Regions from separate parts of the Homo sapiens genome. Here region 1 is linked to region 2. The links are contacts of gene promoters, found by promoter capture Hi-C in human tissues and cell types (Jung and others, 2019). All regions are on one chromosome and are shown on one strand. The core of a region is centred on a gene start or on the middle of the fragment in contact, and the rest is flanking DNA. Distances in the headings are between cores, read along the strand shown.

Region 1 (3,701 bases), core at 82-2,581, 48 kb before region 2:
GGCAAAACCCTGGCCTTTAGGGACTTAAACTTCAGAGCCATGAGGAAAAAAAAGGGTGAAATTCAGGTTATGTTTCCCTATTCCTTATACTGTATTTACTGCATAGTCAGCATTCACTTGTTGATTGTGAATAACATCGTGATAGCATTATATATCTATCCATTCATTTTTAAAAAATAACAAAAAAGGCTTCTTATTCACCAAACCACATTGGCTATAGAATTCCTTTCCTAGACACAATGCTGCGGGAAGCTTATTCCTAGAAGGCACGGTGTGAAGAGCCCCTTTTCAATTGTGTGCAGGTCAGTCCAGTCCACAAAGCTTGATAGCAATATTGAGACCATCTAGAAATGGCCTCATTGTGATTCCATTAGGGGACACGTATTTATGGAACATCTGCAGAGCTCTAAGAGGCTTGTGCTCTTGGAAGGAAAGCTGTTCTATAAATCTAACATAATTATTATAATTATTATAGCTATTAATTTCCGCTAAAGATCCAAAACTAAATTAGACAGTACCAGGATCTAGATGGGTTTGGGGAAGAATTGCTGATGACATATTGCAGAGATTGCAGCTGGCTGTTTCCCTTGCTTCCAAAGTCTCTTGACAAGAACAAAAGTACTATTGCTGTTGCTGTTACTTTACAGATTTGATCTCATTGTATTTCACTACTTTAAAATACAAATACACACTTGTCTCTTAAAAACTTAACCAGCCAATTAAAAACCAATTAATTATGAGATTGATGCAAAAGTAATTGCGATTTTTGCAATTACTTTTCATGGCCAAAACAGCAATTACTTTGCCACCAACCTAATATTAAGAGAGTTTATATAACAAGAGTTTCAGTGCTAGTCCAGTGTCTTGCACAGAATAGTTGCTCCATAAATCCCAGCTGATTAAGCAATACCACAAATATTCTTACGTAACAAGTTTCAGAGCTAGTACAGTGCTTTGCACAGAATAGTTGCCCCATAAATCCCAGCTGATTAAGCAACACCACAAATATTCTTTCATGTTCTATTTATTGCAATAAATTTATGTTTTGTTACTTGTCACAGTGGGAACTTGAGACATGAAAAAATAGCAATACTTGTTATGAAATCCAGAGAAGAGATGTTAAAACTTGCAGTATTGGTAAAACTACAAAACACATCTTCACCTTAGCTATGAAGTTGGCTTGGTGCAGCTGCCAAAAATAGTACCCAGGCCTGGGAAGTAAATTGCGTAAAAGCAATGAACCAAATTTCCAACAATAAAGCTCATAGTTGAGTGAACTAGGGATGCTTTTGTGATTTTCTGTGATTTTGTTATGCTGTTTTTTCTTGAACTTGAGACTTTCCTGTGGGACAATTTTACTTGGTAGCAAAACCACAAGTTGCACAGAGCACTTGGCCACATGTCTGGGAGGAAACGCAGTTGTCCCCTGGGGGCAGACAGCCTTACTAGACCAGAATCTTGAGCCTCAGGGTACATTAGGTAACACTGGAATGACCTTGGATATACAGAATGAAAAGAGTTCAGCTGTGGCTATTGGAAGGGGGTCGGGGGGGGTGACCAATCACAGACTGGGATGTTGTCAGTCAACTCTGACCTCCTCCAGAAAGGCTGGAGACTGTAAGTCTCCACAAAACCTAGCATTCTTTTTTTTTTTTTTTTTTTGAGATGGAGTTTTGCTTTGTTTCCCAGGCTGGAGTGCAGTGGCGTGATCTTGGCTCACTACAAGCTCTGCCTCCCAGGTTCACGCCATTCTCCTGTCTCAGCCTCCCAAGTAGCTGGGACTACAGGCACCTGCCACCACGCCCAGCTAATTTTTTTGTATTTTTAGTAGAGATGGGGTTTCACCGTGTTAGCCAGGATAGTCTCGATCTCCTGACCTCTTGATCCACCCGCCTCGGCTTCCCAAAGTGCTAGGATTACAGGCATGAGCCACTGCGCCCAGCCAAAACTTGGCATTCTTATCCAGAATTCTGCATGGTGCCAGACTAGCCACAGTTGGGAGTGGGAGATGGTAAGAGAAGGTACTATTTTGGCTAATATTAATAATTAATATAATAATAATTAACTTTAAAATATAACAAGTAAAACTACTATGTGCTGCATGCCAGACACTGTTCAGGGTGCCTAACACATGAATCATGTGCAATTCTTTAATTCTCACAATAATCCGGTGAGGTGTTGATTATTATAATTACTGCTACCCTATTAAAGCTTTTAGTGCCTTAAAGTAATCAACATACACAACTTTTAGAATTCATTACTACTGGGCCTCTGAAGAGAAATGCAGTCTCCACTCTGTTCTCTCTTTACCCACCCCCAAGCCTCATTCCCCAGAGTCAACCACTTTTAATTCTTTTAGCTGTTTTTCTGCTATTTATCACCAATGACATGTGCATACTACTGGTATGCTCCTATTCTTTGATTTTTCAATTTTAGACATTTTCTATTGACTTTCCACTGTAGACAATTAGGACTGAGCCCTCACATGGCTGGGCTTTACCTCTACTTGGGAATTCTTTTACTCTCCCCCTGGGTTGAACCCCTTGCTCCCTGGATTCCAGGTCTCCTTGTTTGGTGGCTTACTCTCTTATTTCTATGGAGCACATCCTCAAGTAATCTCTTAAAACATGCACAAAGTCCTCCTCTTTTCAGCCTCTCCCAGTCTGTCACCGCCTACTTCCACCTTCAGGACTACTGGCTCCTGCAGTTCCAGAGCCTTTCCAGGGTTCCATAGCTCAAGTCAGCTTGCTTATTGTAAGCTTCTCACTGCAGGAATGTAACAGAACTAAGATGCAACTCAAGTAGGTCATGTCCCTTCATCCAGATGTTCCTAATTTCCAACATTTGGTTGACATCTCTCATCTGCTGTCATCTGTGCTCACTTTTTGTCCTTATTGATTTATGCCCTTTTATTTCCTTATCCTCATTTCACTGGGATTTCAGCAGAATAAATACATAAATACATACATACATATATAAATACATAAATAAATACATGCTTGTGTTCATTCTGCCACATTTAATTAGAAGACCCTTAATCTGATATTTGATACGAGTAAAAACTGAGACCAGAAGAGGTTAAGTAACTTGTCTAAGGCCACATAGCCACTACATGGAGAAGCTGAGCTGAAATGAAGCTTTAAGATCAGTTTGGGCAGGCACAGTGGCTCACGCCTATAATCCCAGCACTTTGGGAGGCTGAGGTGGACAGATCACCTGAGGTCAGGAGTTTGAGACCAGCCTGACCAACATGGTGAAACTCCATCTGTACTAAAAATACAAAAAAATTAGCCAGGTGTGGTGGCAGGCACCTGTAATCCCAGCAACTTGGGAGACTGAGGCAAGAGAAATGCTTGAACCCGGGAAGGTGGAGGTTGCGGTGAGCTGAGATTGAGCCATTGCACTCCAGCCTGGGCGACAAGCAAAACTCCATCTCAAAAAAAATATCAGTTTGACTACAAAGTTACTACTTCAATTGCCTCACCAAGACCAGATGCCCACTCCTCAGGAAACTCTAGGGTGGCCCCGGGAACCTCAGAGACCAGAGACAGCAGGCTACATACTTCTCAGTCTAGCCTACACTGAACGGTGAGGGGCCACAGCCAACATTTAGCACTGGGCCCTGACCACAGCTGTGAGCTTGGCTGCTCTCACCTCATAAACATGTATTTATGTCATTCTTTTACATGCCAAATCGGTCC
Region 2 (3,707 bases), core at 22-2,521:
GGCGAGGAGCGAGGAGGCGGGCGAAAGGGGAGCGGCCGGGCTCTTGTTGAGGTTCCCCAGGCGGAGGAAGTACTCCTCTCCCATGCGGAGCAGGACCGGCCGAGCCTGCGGCTGCTGGGGCTGCTCGGACTGCGGCGGCGGCTGGAAGAAATCCAAGGGCTGAGGGTGCTGCGGCGCCTGCCGAGCTCCCGGGACCGGCCCGCGGCTCAGGAGCGCCCTGCATGGCGGGCAGGGCAGGAGAGCCACCAGCAGGACTCCCGCGGACACAAGCAGCGGCAGCCGCATGTTAGGGGCACTCGCTGCGGCACAGAGGTGGGCGGAGGGCGGAATGAGAGAGGGGAAGAGAGAAAGAAAGAGTTGGTTAGAGTTCGCTCAGCTGGGAGGTGCACACGGGGTCTTCCTACGGGACTGCCTTAGACGTGCTGGGCTTTGGCCTCAGTGATTCGGATGGGCGCTGTCCGCGGTGCTGAAGCGCCTGGGGAGCGGGGAAAGGGGGCGCCTGCAGGGCTCCGCACCTAAGCTCATGCGCTCACCGGCCAGGAGTGACCCTTCTTTCTAGACTCTGAAAGGACGGTCCCTGCGTCCTCTTCCTAACGATCCTCAAAACTAATTTTCCCGATCCTAGAGAAGAGCCACAGATTTAAGATCCCACCCGCGCTGACTACCTCCCTTCCGGATATTTCAGCATTTTCTTCCAAATTGAGAACTACTGCCTCATGGTCCTCCCTCTCCACTTCTGCCCTTGCTGCCTTATCTCGGGGGTTAGGATAGAAGGGGGTGGGGGAGCTCCTTTACACAGCCAGCAAGGAGCAACTGGCAGCACGGGTAACGAAGAGCAGCCGTCTAAGTTTGCTTTTGCCACATCCCAGCTACTATTGTAATCTTAAGGAATAGTCCGCGAACACGCGCGCACACACACACGCACGCACGCGCGCATACACACACACACATACGCATACACACATGCATACACACACACACACGCACGCACACACATGCATACACACGTACACAGGCAGGGGCAGCCGGCTCCGCGGCGCACATCGCGGCAGCTCAGGCAACGCAAAGTTGGTGGCGTGTTCCGTCCAGGCGCTCCCTACCTTCCCAGGCGCTTCGCAGGTGAGCCGGGTGCTGCCGCCTCTCTGCAGAGAGACGTCTCCGGGGGCTTTCTCTGGAGGTTGTCTTCCTTTCTCTTTACTGTTCCCACTCTCTTTTTCTTTCTCTCCTCTCTTTCCCCTCAGTCTCTCAATGGACTTGGTCTCTGAGTTTCTCCACTCCAGAGCCTGGAGTGGGATTTTATAGTGTCGACCCTCTTCAAAAACCACGCAGCATTTGCCTAATAAGCTGACGCTCTCTTGACAGCTCGATTGCGTGCTGCCTCTGCTCCTGCATAAATCATAGGGCCCTGCCAAGGAACGAGGGGCAGAATTTTGCTATCTCAACACTGAATCTCACATCCAATTATATCAACAGATATTTATCGCCTCTTGGTGACGTCAACGAGCCCTAAAATGGAAGGGCTTCTTATGACTTGTCCATTGACAAAAATTCTTGAATGAGATTTCCCAAGTGTGAAAACATATTGACCTCTTACTATGAAAGGCCATATTAGGGGTGTGCAAAGAGACAGCGAATGGGAGGAGGAAGGGGAAGTGGGAAGGAAGTGAGGTGTCCCAGTGCAGCCCTGCCAGGAAAGCAGCAGCCAGTTGGAGGGGGTGGACCTGGATGCCCCTTCTCCTAACCTCCCTGACCAGGTGTCTCTGACAACACCTCAGTATCTGGAAATATCCCTTTGCTAGAGACAGAGTCCCACCATCTTTCTGCCTGGAAAAGAATGAAGCATCAGGAGAGGGGTGTGCAGGAACATCCAGCTTTTAAACGTCTATCTGCTTTTTCCTCCCAAGAGCAAGCACATAAAGGAGTTATGAGCCTGCAGAAGCAAGGCCAATAAATCTCTCAAAATGCAGTTCAAGTTTTTTAGATGATGACAAGAGCTACTCCCATAGTGAAGGGGCACAAACCGGGGTTAGTAAGGGGTGCGGCAAAGATTTTAGGTTATCTCAGAAACTCTCTGCTCCTTTTTTTGTCTCTCTTCTCACAATCTAAAATTAATTGTGGACTCCCTTTTCTATTCCCAAATTAAAGAGAGAGGCGGCCAGTGAGAGATGCATGAGTTAAACAAGCTTTACTTATTCTACTGAATGCAAACTCAATGAGAGGCATCCATTCTAACTTCCTAATCTATGTTGAAAAAGGCTTAAACTGCTTGACTACAGGGCTAAATTCATTAGTTACATGTTTTCATTGGTCAATATTGAGTCTGTAAAAAAAAACTCGTTCATTTCACCTCCAAATACTATCAACATCCATAATAGTATCCACATCTGGGCCACCCAGGGTGGTTCTTTTTAATTATTTCTTTTTCCAAATCCAAATGTGCTTCATGTCAGCCTGTTAAATAAATAAATGCTCTCTGACATGTCGCAGAATGGAATGGAATGCTAAGCCTGTAAAACTATATTCAATTTTTGATTAATTGACACTATCATATAGGTGGGAGGCAGTTACCTCTAATTCTGCAATTCAAAATGCAATTCCAAGTTCTTGTGCCTGTGATTCAATTCAGCTTCCAGATAACCATCAGAGTTGTTTATCGGAAATTTCCTGCTCCTCATTTCTGATTACTTCTGCTGCTTCCTTTGTAGCTAATGTGACAAATGATGCAATGCATATTTCAACTTCCATTTTGGGTCTATACCAATCCACAACTGCTCTTAGGAACAAAGGGAAGGCAGGGAGAGAAATGTTGACAGTTTGCAGAGAAGCCAGCCCATAGTTGGATCACTGCACCATGTTATGTACTTTTGACATAAGAGAACAGAGAGAATGTGCCTACTTGGAAAGATGTGAGTTGTTAATAGAAGATCATGATTATGGAAAATGGTTGAGTTTCTGGGAGAAAGCTGTGTTTTATATTGGTAGGAAAGCACACAGAACCTTAGATTTTGTTATTGTGGGCTTTTTTTTTTTTTATTAAGCTGGAATGGGTTCAACATTTTTGCTTACTTTCCTTTATGAACTGTTTTCTGACCCTGTTAGCAGATTTCAGCTTGGATGTCAATCTGGAGGTGAAACGTTGACTTGGAATAGGAAGTTTCAGTGCAGTAAATGGACACAGAAGATAAACTAGGAAAGGGATGTGGTTATGAGTTTAGCTGGGGAGGTCTGGGAGGTTCTTCCAGAGAAGACACAACAAGTTTTGGGCTCTGACTAAACCCATGCCCATACAAATCTCTCTCCCATTGGGCTATCTGGGGGATATTGTTTTAGTATAGCTCCCTCATCACTGTTGAGTCCTTGCTGTGAGGTTTTCTTGGGGTAAGTCATTAATAGAGCCAAAGTGGCTCCAACTAGGGAGTAAGGAAAAAAATGTTCCTGAACCCCAGAGGAAGAGAAGCTATGCACAGCCACAATTTATCTGTATTTGTCTGTTCTCACACTGCTAATAAAGACATACCTGAGACTGGGTAATTTATAAAGGAAAGCAGTTTAATGGACTCACATTTTCACATGGTAGGGGAGGCCTCACAATCATGGCAGAAGGCAATGGAGAAGCAAAGACACGTCTTACATGGTGGCAGGCAAGAGAGAGCATGTGAAAGAGAACTCCCCTTTCTAAAACCATCAGATCTGATGAGACTTATTTA

Evidence for each region. The method cuts DNA at HindIII sites, captures the fragments that hold promoters and counts their contacts. A contact is called where the count stands out against the background at its distance.
Region 1: a fragment that was not itself captured here is called in contact with the fragment with the promoter of CRH in region 2 in 2 of the 25 tissues and cell types used here (heart right ventricle and thymus).

What each region holds. Positions count from the first base shown.
Region 1 is chr8:66,129,017-66,132,717 of GRCh38, forward strand. All of the region lies in intron 2 of TRIM55 (tripartite motif containing 55), which reads left to right. Among named protein-coding and RNA genes, the nearest start is that of TRIM55, 3.7 kb to the left of the region's middle. The HindIII fragment of the contact is 3,233 bases long and covers 1-2,948 here.
Region 2 is chr8:66,177,193-66,180,899 of GRCh38, forward strand. CRH (corticotropin releasing hormone) reads right to left here and starts at 1,272. Exons shown (of 2, transcript NM_000756.4): 1 at 1,101-1,272; 2 at 1-299. The coding sequence starts at 285. It overlaps LOC112268029 (a long non-coding RNA gene), which reads right to left. Exons shown (of 4, transcript XR_002956713.2): 4 at 2,694-2,768. RefSeq lists an enhancer at 158-227. The HindIII fragment of the contact is 9,798 bases long and covers 1-3,536 here.